Regions from separate parts of the Homo sapiens genome. Here all the other regions are linked to region 3. Evidence: promoter capture Hi-C in 16 types of primary human blood cells and fetal thymus (Javierre and others, 2016). All regions are on one chromosome and are shown on one strand. Each heading gives the region's core, a stretch centred on a gene start or on the middle of the fragment in contact. The rest is flanking DNA. Distances are from core to core; before and after follow the strand shown.

Region 1 (3,291 bases), core at 85-2,584, 390 kb after region 3:
CCAGGGATTCTTTTTGTTTTCAAGGCAAAGGTTACCAAGTTACAATGGACCAAAGTAGCTGGAATGCAAAGGAGTATAATCCTTGTCTTTGAAAAAAGAGCATTTGTTTCAATCATATGGCATATCAAAGTAAACTTTCTCCCTTCCTCCCTCCTTTCGTTGCTGCTGCTTCTTTTTTTTCTCTTTTTTTTTTTCTTTTTTTGGAGAGGGTCTCACTCTGTCACCCAGGCTGCAGTGCAGTAGTGCAATCTTGGCTCACTGCAAACTCAGCTTCCCTCAAACAATCCTCCCACCTCAGCATCCCAAGTTAGCTGGGACCACAGCCATGCTCCACCATGCCCAGCCATCCTTGCTTCTTTACTACATTTCTTTTTTCAACAAATATTTATCAAGTAATATTGTCAAGTAATATTTATGAGCTTCCCCTCAGATAGGCATTTAGCATCATGATGGCACCATCCTCTAACAATAATGGGAAGGCTATTTTCCACTGTTATTAATCATTAATTCTCCAAATCATTTTAGTATTATTATTAATTCTAATAAGTACAGAGATTAATAAATGCATTCAAACCACATGTGAATATTTGCTATAGGTTTATCTGTGCCTACTGTATGTTCAGATTTTTCTTTATATCTGAACTTTGTTATAAATAAATGACAGTAAAAATGGAATTTATAGTTCAATGAACTTGACAAATCACTTATTCTGCCATTCATTTTCCATAAAGACCATTCATTCTTCCTTGTTTTACAGGTAACTGAGCTCCAGAAAGCTCAAGTGACTTTAGAACTCAGTTCTTAGTGTGTGAATTATGCTCCCATCTCATCCCTCTTCCTTGATGGAGCACTTTCCTCCTCATTTTTTCTTGGATAGTCTGTACAAGCTGCCTGAGGTGTGCAGGAAAGTGAGCCACGTCGAAGTGTACTGCTTTTAAATTTTTGCCAGGATGAAGCATAGCCCAAAGTTGCCAATAAAAATGGATTTCTTTACCTTTCTGAAATTGTGTGATGACAATTTCTAAGTAAAGGACCCAAATCATGTCAACTTCAGGAAATATAATAATGAGGGAGCCAGGAGCAGTGAGGGGCTCACACCTGTAATCCCAGCACTTTGGGAGGCCAAGGTGAGCGGGTCGCTTGAGCCCAGGACTTCGAGACCAGCCTGGGCAACACGGCAAAACCCTGTCTCTACAAAAAAATACAAAAAATTAGCTGGGTAAGGTGGTGTGTGTCTGTGGTCCCAGCTATTCAGGAGGCTGAAGTGAGAGAATCGCTTGAGCCTAGGAGGTCGAGGCTTCAGTGTGCCGTGATCGTGCCACAGCACTCCATCATCATCATCCTGGGTGACAAAGTGAGACCCTGTCTCCCCACCAAAAAAAAGAGGGAGTTTCATCTCCCAAGAAAATGAATTAGATAGGAATAATAGAAAATTTACTCTCAGAATAATAGGGTTCTAGCTCCTGCAACCAAAAAAAGATAGTTCTTTTTTACAACCTGAGATTACTTTTTCAAGCATTTCTCCAGTTCCACTGGCATTGAAATAATAGTTAGCAATGCATCTGAGCTTTTCTTCCTCTAATGAGCAGGCAGAGAAGTCATAGATCATCATTTGGAGGACTATAAAATAAGACATAGCTTAGCAAAAGGACCAAAATACATTCAGAGGAGGATGCTATTGGTGAATGTCCTCAAAGCCTATAATCTGGAAAAATACAAGGCATATCTCTGAAACTGTGAGGATTAGCAAACTAGCTAACCTGAATCTCTGTCTTCTGGTAGTATAAACTAGGTAGTTTCAAATCTGAGTAGTTTCTCCATAAAAGCATTTCTTCCCAAACGTTTCTTACCAAACTCCCAAATAAATGAGAAAAATAAAATACAGTTTTATAATTTTTGAGAAAGATTATGGGATTATGGTATTTAAAAAGAAAAGCATTCTGTAGAGTTGGGGAAATCTGGAAGACTCTTGAGGACATAGCTTTGCCGAAATTGCTGGTTGTCACAAGACTCTTCAAAAACTACTTTTCATCAGACATCTCCCAGGGCTCTGAGGTGAATATTAATTCAGCAGAAAGATCCTTTTCTGCTACATAGGCAGGAGGTCCAGACACAGGGGAGTGGGTGCAACCCAGCTGGTCCCATTTTCTGTAATATAATTAACAATGAAGCTCATACTTTCTCAACTTCTAGAAGCCTGGAGGATGGAAGCAGCCCGAGAGTAGGGTGAATGATGGCCTCAGTGGGCCCTTCTTAATGTGTCTCAGTACTGAATGTGTGGAGATTGTAGAAAAATAGAAGGCCCTTGGAAAAAACCTCTGTTCGTTTCTCTGTTCGTTTCGCTCCCTGATCTCCCTGCCGGATTGCTTTTCTTTCCTTTCTCTTCCTTGGCTGTCCTTTACCTCATGGTGTGGGGTGTGCAGATAGCAGGTTGTGGCTTGGTGAGTGCTCTTCACTTCAGGTCAAGGTGAGGCACAGTTAACATGCTAACTACTTTCCTCAGTTCTCTCTGAGTTGTGTAAAGCTCCCGATGCCAGACTTCCTCTTAATTTTGCACATTATTAAAGTCCAAAGAGTTAAGATTTGGTGATGAGGGGCAAAGGGCCAGCTGTCACAGAAATCAATGAAATGATACACAGAAATGGGTATCATGAAAAGGCCACTGGACTTGGGAAAACTGGGTGCCTGTCCTTGCCCTGCCATGTACTTACCTGTGTGACTGGAGGTGAGATGTTTTACCTATGGGCCTCAGTTTCTCATTACAAAATGACAGAGAAGACTAGATACCTAAGTTCCTAAGTTTGTGACATTTGTGAATTTTTCTTGGCCCTCTGTGAGTAGAGTGCTAAATTTAGAGGCTTCCTGTGGTTGAACTGATGTCCAATTCTCAGGGAACCCAGACTTCTCAGTTCAGAACCCAGTTCCAGATTTTTGTGGGAATAGGGAAAGGTATTAAATAACTCCATTGAATTCTTTCCTGCATAATGCCCTGCTGTGGCTGAGACTCAATGAGGTCATCACCTCCAACACACAGAACCCCTCATCATCTCCTTACAGCCAGACTGGAGCTTCCAAGGACATCAGGTTGGCAAGGATTGTGAGTACCCTAAACATCTAAAGAGGCCCTCTAATAAGGGACATATTTGTTCTTCAACAGTTTCCTAACTTGAGACCACAAATGCGTAATCTCTCTAATATCCTAAAGCTTGGACAAACTGGGCAGCCCCTGAGCAGACCGCACAGAGCTTAAATGTCAGTGCTTTCCTTCCAGAAAGAAAAAGAATGGTCCTA
Region 2 (3,258 bases), core at 256-2,755, 280 kb after region 3:
AGGCTTAGCACCCATCCCATGAGCCTCTGTGGGTCTTTCTGCTGCACCCACCCAGGGCATCAATAGTTTCTTTAATTTTTGAAGACTAAGTTCTTCGTGGCAGCAGCTTTTTTTCCAATCCCATCTTTTTCTTCCAATGCAACTCTTCTTAAGGGTTCCAAAATCAAAATCTGTATTCACCTAAGAAAGTGTGGTGGGGCAGAGAGCTTCATTTGTACGAAAGAAAACCACTTAAGCTTCTGATACTTGTTCATGTAGACGCTAGCTGTGTTTCCGAATCACCTGGGAACTTTAGAAAACTACAGATGCTTAGGCCTTACTCCCAGAGCTTGGGATTCACTGGTCTAATGTGCAGTCAGGGTTGAGGTCACTATGTAGAACCTCATGTATAAACAGAAACAGACAAATGAGAATACCCTGAGGAAACAAATAATTTTAGGAACAGAAAAGATGTGTGTGTGTGTGTGTATACACACACAATATATATGTGTGTGTATATATATATATAGAAATAGAGAGAATCAAACAATAGTATATGACAATAATATAACATGCAACAATAATATATTTGTTACTTTATTTGTTACAAATAAGTATTTGTTACCAAAATTATTTGATAATATATACGTAGTATCAAATAATTATGTATATATACATACATATATGTGTTTGTGTGTGTGTGTATATATATACACTATTATTTGAGAATTTTGAGAGGCCATCACAACTGTGAAATAAGCAAGAATGCTGTAAAAAAGAGAAAACATTTGCATATAGAATTTAGGACCCTTTTAAATTTTTTCTTTCCTTGCTTAAACACCCCCATTTCTTTTACCCCAGGATTTTCAACCTTAGCACTGACATTTTGGGTCAGATAATTCTGTGCATTTCAAGATGTTTAGAAGTATTTCTGGTCTCTACCCACTAGATCTCAGTAGCATAGCCCCTCCCCAACCTGAACTGTACTAGGTCTCCAGCAAGGGTTCTTAACTGGGCTGAAATGACTGAAATGACAGAAATAAAATTCAGAATGTCGATAGTAATGAAGATCATTGATATTCAGGAGAATATTGAAACCCAATTTAAGGAAGCTGAGAATCACAGTAAAATGATACAGGAGCTGAAAGACAAGATAGCCAGTATAGAAAATAATGTAACCAACCTGATAGAGCTGAAAAACACTCTACAAGAATTTCATAATGCAGTCACAAATATTAACAGTAGAAGAGACCAAGCTGAGGAAAGAATCTCAAGCTTGAAAAATGGCTTTTTGAAATAAGATAGTTAGACAATAGTAAGGAAAGGAGAAAAAAAGGAACAAACAAAACTTCTGAGAAATATAGGATTATGTAAAGAGACCAAATATATGACTCATAGGCATCTCTGAAAGAGATGGGGAGAATGGAAGCAACTTGGAAAGCATATTTAAGGATATCACTCATGACAACTTCCCCAACCCAACTAGAGAGGCAAACATTCAAATTCCAGGAATATGGAGAACCCCCACAAAATACTTGACAAGATCATGATGCCCAAGACACATAATCATCAGATTTTCAAGGTCAAAATGAAAGAAAAAATGTTAAAGGCACCTGGAGAGAAAGGACAGGTCACCTACAAAGGGAAGTCCATCAGACTAACAGTGGACCTCTCAGCAGAAACTCTACAAGCCAGAATATATTGGGGGCCCATATTCAACATTCTTAAAGAAAAGAAATTCCAACCAAGAATGTCATATCCAGCCAAACTAAGCTTCCTAAATGAAGGAGAAATAAGATCCTTTTAGACAAGCAAATGCTGAGAGAATTTATTACCACCAGACCTGCCTTACAAGAGCTCTTGAAAGCAGCAATAAATATAGAAAGAAAAGACCATTACTAGCCACTACAAAACACACACCTAAATACACAGGGCAGTGACATTATAAAGCAACCACACAGACAAGTTGGCATAAAAACAGCTAACAACAGGTGACAGGATCAAATCTATATGTATCAATACTAACGATGAATGTAAATGGGCTAAATGCTCCCAATGAAAAGGCACAGACTTGCAAACTGCATAAAGGAGCAAGACCCTATGGTATGCTGTCTTCAGAGACTTATTTCACATGCAGTGACACCCACAGGCTCAAAATAAAGGGATGGAGAATAATCTACCAGGCAAATAGAAAACACAAAAAAAGCAGGGGTTGCAATCCTACCTCCAGACAAAACAGACTTTAAACCAACAAAGATCAAAAAAGACAAAGAAGGGCATTGCATAATGGTAAAGGGTTCACTTCAACAAGAAGACTTAACCATCTTAAATATATATGCACCCAATACAGGAGCACTCAGATTCATAAAACAAGTTCTTAGAGACCTACAAAGAGACTTAAACTTTCAAACAATAGTAGCAGGAGACTTTACAACCCCACTGGTGGTATTAGATCATTGAGGCTGAAAATTAACAAAGGTATTCAGGACCTGAACTCAACACTGGACCAAATGGATCTGATATACCTCTGCAGAACACGCCACCCCAAAACAACAGATTATATATTCTTCTCATCTGCACCTGGTACGTACTCAAAAATTGGCCACACAATTGGACATAAAACAATCCTTAGAAAATACAAAGGAACTAAAATCATACTAACCACTCTCTCAGACCACAGTGCAAAAAAATAGAATTCAAGTCTAAGAAAATTGCTGAAAACCATATGATTACATGGAAATTAAACAACCTGCTCCAGAATGACTTTTGGGTAAATACTAAAATTAAGACAGAAATAAATAAGTTCTTTAAAACTAATGAAAACAAAGCTACAACATACCCAGAATCTCTGGGACACAGCTAAGACAGCGTTAAGAGGGAAATTTATAGTGCTAAATGCCTACATCATAAAGTTAGAAAGATCTCAAATTAACAACCTAACATCACAACAAAAAGAACTAGAGAGGCAAGAGCAAACCAACCACAAAGCTAACAGAAGCCAAGAAATAACCAAAATCAGAACTGAACTGAAGACAGCTTTTGAGATACAAAAAAACCATCTAAAAGATCAATGAAGCCAGGAGTGGGGTTTTGAAAAAAAAAATAAGATAGATAGACTGCTAGCTAGACTAATAAAGAAGAAAAGAGAGAAGATGCAAGTAAACACAGTCGGAAACAACAAAAGGGATATTACCACTGACCCCACAGAAATACAAATCACCATTAGAGGCTAATATGAACAACTCTATGCACACAAGCTAGAGAATATAGAAGAAATGG
Region 3 (3,425 bases), core at 253-2,752:
AAACAACAGAATATTCTCGATAATAACCATTAATACACATGGCTCTGCTTTTGAACATGGTATTGGGGGAGGGGGTACAATGCCAATCAGTTGTTCTAAATGACGGCCGTACTGCCCCTTGAGGGACATTTTGGAGATTTTAAGGGCATTTTTGGTTATCAAGACAATTGGGGGACATTTAGTGGGCAGGGGCCAGGGATCCTATCCTGGAAAATTCTGGTCAGTTCTTCAAAATTAATTGATCTGAGTCCTGCAAAAATTTTAAATGCTCTGCCAGAGCAAATCTAATGCTAATATGTAGATAAAACTGAATTTTAAAAACGAATTACAAAAAAGTCCAGTAATTTAGAAGCTTAAATAAAAAAGCAATGGCTGTCTCAAAATCATTAAATAATTGAGGTACTCTTTGAATCCTGACTATAGTTCCACATATATTTAGACGAAATATCTCTGGGCAATGGTGCACTTAGTGTAAATACATATGGAGAGTTGAGATGCCTTTTAGCAGACTTAGAACAGAATATCAATAAATTGTAGGACATGCAAGAATGCTCACTCATGAAATTTCACTAATAAACGTTGTTATAAAAATTTTTCCACATTATTGCCATCTAGAGATTATTATTTTTGCACGATAGGAAATTTAGATTAGGCGAAAGTTACTTATTGATAAGGACCATCTCATTTGTGAAACTATTATTCGTTTCCTATTCTTCACTGTCTAAATTCTGTCTAATTTGTCTGGCATGTTTTCCCTACTTAAGTTAAATAGAAGAAAAAAGGAGAGTTAATTTTTTGAATGCTTAATTTGGGTTTGAAAAGCTTTTAAAGCATTTTGAAGTCTTCTATATTCATTCCAAAATAATTTAAGCTGTATACAGGCAGTCTCTGCTTACAGTGGGTCGACTTAACGATTTTTGACTTTACCATGGGTTTATGGGTATTGACTGCATTTTGTACTTAACAATGGGTTTCTCGGGTATCCCCACGTACAGGGAGCATCGACATATGCCTATTGAGTTAAAATAATATATGCGCCAACATAAAGCTAGAAAATACAACCGCAAAATCACCCGCGAGCCGGACGGCCAGGGAAGCGGTTAGCGCTGTGACGCCGGCGCGCAGGTGAACCGTGAGAATCGCCTCTCACCTCTGGCCGCGGAAGGTCCGGGGCGTGGTCGATACGGACGGCGGAGCTGACGTAGTCGATGCGGTTCCGTTCAGTGGCCGTGAAGATGTTGTCCGCCCTGGCTATGTCCTCCGGGCTTGGGTCAAAGATACGCAGGTGAAGGTCTTGCCTCCCGTAGGGGGCGAGGAACCGCTCTACTTCCTGCAGCGGGTACAGCAGCTTCCTCAGCTGCTGCTTCGGCAGCCGCAGCACCTCAGCAAAAGCTTGGGACGTGCTATTATAGCGGCTCAGTCGCTCTAGCACCGCAGGCATTTCAAAGAGTCTTCCCGCTCCCAGCCGCAGCCCGGGCGCCGCCATTCTCCCTTCCCAGAAGACGGGCAGAGAGATTTTACTCCTGTGGCCTGGGTTGCGCGTGCGTGACTTCCCGCTGCCGCGACGCCTGCTGGGAGTTGTTGTCTCCTCTGGCCTCGCTCGTTCCGGTCTAAGTGTTTTGCCTTCAGTGCGCGGGAGGAGGGTGGAGGCAGGCGGTGACCTGCGGGGAACAGCTCACTGGGTTTCTTTAACACCGTGGGCTTAACGATTATGTCTTACTGGAAGGATGTTTAACGGTTTGCAGAGGTGAAAGACCTATCTGGCCATGTGGCCTTTGAGTCTCAAGCGAAGGACTAAAGTGTGAAGCTCCGATGCATTCCAGGAACGTTTGATTTTCACAGTTTTTGGTTATCTTATTAACTGTTGACGTTTGTCGTAAGTCCGCAGCACTAGGATAAACACTTTTGCAAAAAAGAAAAGGGCTGATGAGAAATGTGATTGTAATAGCACCTCGTTTTCGTGGAAGGGACTGTTTGTATTTCCGCCTTCACTATAGGTGCAGGAAATGTCATTAAATTTTAGAGATTTCTTATAAAAACAGTTTTGCACAGATGTTACAGAATTGTTTCGTGGACGTTTCGTAATATCATCTTATTTCAAAAGTTTCTCCCTAAAGTCGATCAGTACTGAAATGGGAGATACAGGTATCATAATGATGAAATGAATAACTGAAAAATATTCATATGTTAAAAAAACTAGGTTTTCTAAAACATCAGCAGCCCAGAAAGGGTAACTCATGGTTTCTTGAGCTATTCCCCAGGTTGTTCAGTAATTAAACAGTACAATTCTTGAATAAATATGATACAAAAATTAATGAACAGAACCTGCGACTTTGAGGGCAGCCAATACGGCAGCCTGATGTGCTGCTGGCTGGCTAATTTTTTATTGCTCTTTGCATTAGGGTTTGGGGTGCCTTTCTGTTCGCTATTCTCTCTCCTCCATGTATAAAAGTGTGTATAATACTCTGTTGTATACATCAGAAATTTGGGATTCTCATTAGTGTGTGTTTCACTCATCCATGTGAAGAGATCACCAAACAGTCTTTGTGTGAGCAACAAGGCTGTTTATTTCACCTGGGTGCAGGTGGGCTGAGTCCCAAAAGAGAGTCAGCAAAGGTGGTGGGATTATCATTAGTTCTTATAGGTTTTGGGACAGGCGGTGGAGTTAAGAGCAATGTTTTAGGGGCAGAGGGTAGATCTCACAAAGTACATTCTCAAGGGTGGGGAGAATTACAAAGAAACTTCTTAAGGGTGGGGGAGATTATAAAGAACATTGATCAGTTAGGATAGGGCAGAAACAAATCACAATGGTGGAATGTCATCAGTTAAGCTGTTTTCCCTTCTGTGGATCTTCAGGCCTTCTGGATGTATACGTGCAGGTCACTGGGGATATGATGGCTTAGCTTGGGCTCAGAGGCCTGACGCTGTGTATGTAATATACTTTGAAAGTGCTTTTATACATGCCATTTTGTTTTCAAACCTTGGAACCCCAGGTTTGGAAATAAGAGCATAAAAGAGTTTTGGCGATTCTTAGAAAGGTTTTAGAGGTGTTCCGGGATTAATAGACATTATAGTATTCATTTAATAATCATTCATGTTTCTGAATTCTAAATCATTTTGGATTTCACCTGATAGGACAAATCATTTTAGAATTATTTGACAGGACAGTTTTTGCAACAAATTGTCTTGTCATGCAAAGCTTGAAGGATCAAACGGTCTACTGGAAAGAAGTATGACTAGTAAAACCACTTGACAATTTATATATTTTTTTCTCTTTCACTTCATCTTTTAAAAGCATCTGTGTAAACAAAGCATATAAAACTTCAGGATGATTTAGAGTTAATAATACACTATGTTTTCCCTCAACATGATTAAACTCATAATTTGCAGAAGTTCAAATATGAAACATACATAGCAGTGAGACC
Region 4 (3,173 bases), core at 73-2,572, 370 kb after region 3:
AGTTTTTTGATAACTTCTTTCAAAGAAAGGAGAGTTTGAGGGTAATCAAGAGAGGTAGCAAAGTTCATGGAGGTGGAATATGGCAACAAGGAGAGAGAAAATGTTGATTTCTTACTATCTAATGACTTCATAAGTCAATTTTTAAAATGAGAATGGTACGCCAGGTGCAGTGGCTCATGCTTGTAATCCCAATACTTTGGGAGGCCGACGTAGGCTGATCACTTGAGGCCAGGAGTTTGGGAACAGCCTGGCCAATATGGTGAAATCCCATCTCTACTAAAAATACAAAAATTAGCTGGGCATGGTGGCAGATGCCTGTAATTCCAGCTATTTGGGGGGTTGAGGCAGGAGAATTTCTTGAACCTGGGAGGCAGAGGTTGCAGTGAGCCAAGATTATGCCAGTACACTCTAACCTGGGTGACAAAGTGACACTCTGTCTCAAAATAAATAGATAAATAAATCAATAAATAAACAAAATGAGAATGATAGTATACAAATCAGTCTAAAATACCCTTTCTGTCTGATCCTGTTGAAGAGAATTGTTCTTTCTAGAGAAACCTCAGTCATCAGGATCCACAACAATTCAAAAATGCTGCTTTGCCTCTGGGGCAGTCCTGAAAAATAGACCCTTTTCCCCCAACTTCTCCTTTCATCAGTGGTGACAGTGCCTGGCAGCTGCCTTCTCTAGACCCTGCAACACTGAGCTGGGAGGAGAGGCAGGATGAGTGCTCAGACTTCCACACAGTGGCTGTGTGTCCCCCTCTGCTTTGATAAGTCTTTACTTATCAATCATTCTGTGCCCTAGAGACTAGAGAGCCTGTCTCCTAACCTACTCAGTCTTCTTAGTCCACTGCCCTTGCTGCCTCCAACATCAAGCATATCAGTGTCAAGACCAATCCCTGACATTCCAAGGGGGAAAAGTGCCTGATATGTCAAATGTACAAAACAAGTGTTTGAAGAATGTAGTGGAGGGATTGGCTCTTCCAATTGTAGTCATCAGATAAGGTATTGAAAATATCAGAGAATTTTGAAAAGTAGGTTGATTTAATGGAGGGACCTTGAAAAATGAGTAGGTTTTTTTTCTTTTGATAGAATAATGACTAGATCAAGGTATTTTTGTTTTTGTTTAATTTTTCAAAGAAATACTTTTTTTAAATTTTCAAAGTCAAAGCTATATAAAAAGGTGTACACAGACAAGTCTTGTATCCTTCCTGACCCCTTTACCCTGCTACTCCCTGCACCCACAGGTAATCATTTTTGTTAATTCCTTATTTATTCATTTAGTACTTTTTTAGACAAATACAAATAAATACCTATATATTTTTCTTTTTATACAAAATATAGCATATTATATATATTGTTCCACACCTTGCTTTTTTCACTTAAAATATTTCTAGGAGATCTTTCTTTATGAGTATATAGCAATCTTCCCCATTTCTTATCAAAAAATTGTGAGATTCTCTCATAGTTTAAACATTTTGTCCATGGACACTTGGACTATTTTCAATATTTTGTTCTTACACATATATCACACATACATAGAGCTATATATGAACAAGGTTACGATTAAATTGTGAAATTGTGTGTGCATCTTTCCAATACAGTCTAAGAAACAGGATTGTTAGACTAAATAGAAAATGTAGTCTGAGTGGATACTTCCTGATTTCTCTCCACACAAGTTGAATCATGTTGCAGTTCCAACAACAATGTTTAAATATGTCTATTTCCCCAGACCTCTCCAATTAATGTGTGTAATCAAACTTTTGGATGCTTTTGACCAGTGTAATATGTGAAAAATGGTATCAGTATAGGGTAGTATTGATTTGCATTTCTCATGTTGTGAGTATGATTGAACACATTTTCATGCTTAGGGAGCATTTATATTTCCTTTTTAGTGTTCTTTGCCCATTTTTCTATTGCGTTGTCATCTTTTTCATCCCAATGCATAGGTACTCTATATAAATTGGAAAAAAATTCAGACTCCCACCTCCCCTTTCTACTCCAAGATAATGACTCATTTGTTTAGGAATGAGGTCCAGGAATCTATATTTTAAAATGTTGCTCAGGTGATTCTGATTTGCTATTAGGTTTGATCTAGAGCAGAAGGCTAGGTAGAGGATAAGAGGTGAAGAGAGGGCTAGAAATGTAGTTTGGCACCTGAAATTAGATTTCTAATACCAAGATAAAGTATTCAAACTTTATATGTAAACCATGTGAAGTCACTAAATATTTCTGAATATATTTTTCAAATATATTTATAACTTTAAGATTTGATGGAGTCAATCTGTAGGACAGCAATTCACTTGGACAGGACACACTCTTTATTAATAAGACAAGTTGCTCTTTCTAGAGAAAAAGTGATCAGGAATGGCCAGGGTAGTCCCACCTATCAATTTAATCAGGTCACTCATCTCACAGTGGGGTAGTAGATAGGAAAATGACCCACTCATAGAGTAAAAGGGGAGTAAGCAGATCAATTGCAAAGTAATTTAAACTTATCCATTTCCAATCAAAAGGAAATAAGTTCCAAGCTGGAGGCCAAGGTTATCCTAACTGAAATAACCTGCCATGGACTGCTCAGCACTCCTGGCAATGTTCTTGAGAATAAAAGCAATTTAGCTTCTGCTGGCATCTACCTCCTGGCTTATGCAAAGCACAACCAAGAGAGTTTTGGCCCCTACTGACTTCTTGAAAAGAATCGTTATATTTTAAATGCCTTACAAATATGTTTTATTTAAAAGACCTAATGCATGCAAAACCAATTTTAGAAAAAAATATATATGAATGTGTTTTCTCAAATTACATTAGACTGTGTTGCGGGTTCACAAGATCAAAGGAAAGTGTGAAGGTTTTATGGTGGGTTTTCTACACAGTCCCAGAATCACTCACCTTATCTATACCTTATTACTGTCTTTTTCATATATCTTTCTTATGGGAGAGTTCTAGTGATTACCAAATCTTTACTGAATGCTGGGGTTGTATGCTAGGAACTGTGCCAGCCTGAAAGGATGTAAAAGGTGACCAAAACTCAGTCTCTATTGTTGAATTACTCATATCTAGGGGGAAGACAGATATGTAAACAACTGGTTGCAATGCAAGGTGATTAGCATTATTACAGAAGAATGCCAAAATGTTGAGTGCACAAGTGAGGTGAAGACAGGTTTCAGAGACAA

The links. The method cuts DNA at HindIII sites, captures the fragments that hold promoters and counts their contacts. A CHiCAGO score of 5 or more calls a contact.
Region 1: a fragment that was not itself captured here is called in contact with the fragment with the promoter of GTPBP8 in region 3 in 1 of 17 cell types (M1 macrophages); the score reaches 5.4 in M1 macrophages.
Region 2: a contact is called between a fragment that was not itself captured here and the fragment with the promoter of GTPBP8 in region 3, in 2 of 17 cell types (M0 macrophages and monocytes). The highest score is 6.0, in M0 macrophages.
Region 4: a fragment that was not itself captured here is called in contact with the fragment with the promoter of GTPBP8 in region 3 in 3 of 17 cell types (M1 macrophages, monocytes and megakaryocytes); the score reaches 7.0 in M1 macrophages.

What each region holds. Positions count from the first base shown.
Region 1 is chr3:112,598,589-112,601,879 of GRCh38, reverse strand. It overlaps CCDC80 (coiled-coil domain containing 80), which reads left to right. Exons shown (of 8, transcript NM_199511.3): 8 at 1-3,291. Among named protein-coding and RNA genes, the nearest start is that of SLC35A5, 38 kb to the right of the region's middle. The HindIII fragment of the contact is 3,746 bases long and covers 1-3,207 here.
Region 2 is chr3:112,708,241-112,711,498 of GRCh38, reverse strand. No RefSeq gene overlaps it. Among named protein-coding and RNA genes, the nearest start is that of MIR9900, 27 kb to the left of the region's middle. The HindIII fragment of the contact is 498 bases long and covers 1,257-1,754 here.
Region 3 is chr3:112,989,061-112,992,485 of GRCh38, reverse strand. GTPBP8 (GTP binding protein 8) reads right to left here and starts at 1,502. Exons shown (of 6, transcript NM_014170.4): 1 at 1,151-1,502. The coding sequence starts at 1,486. RefSeq lists enhancers at 1,245-1,454, 1,333-1,960. The HindIII fragment of the contact is 1,807 bases long and covers 1,395-3,201 here.
Region 4 is chr3:112,623,833-112,627,005 of GRCh38, reverse strand. The region is part of intron 3 of CCDC80 (coiled-coil domain containing 80); the gene reads left to right. Among named protein-coding and RNA genes, the nearest start is that of CCDC80, 16 kb to the left of the region's middle. The HindIII fragment of the contact is 4,682 bases long and covers 1-3,173 here.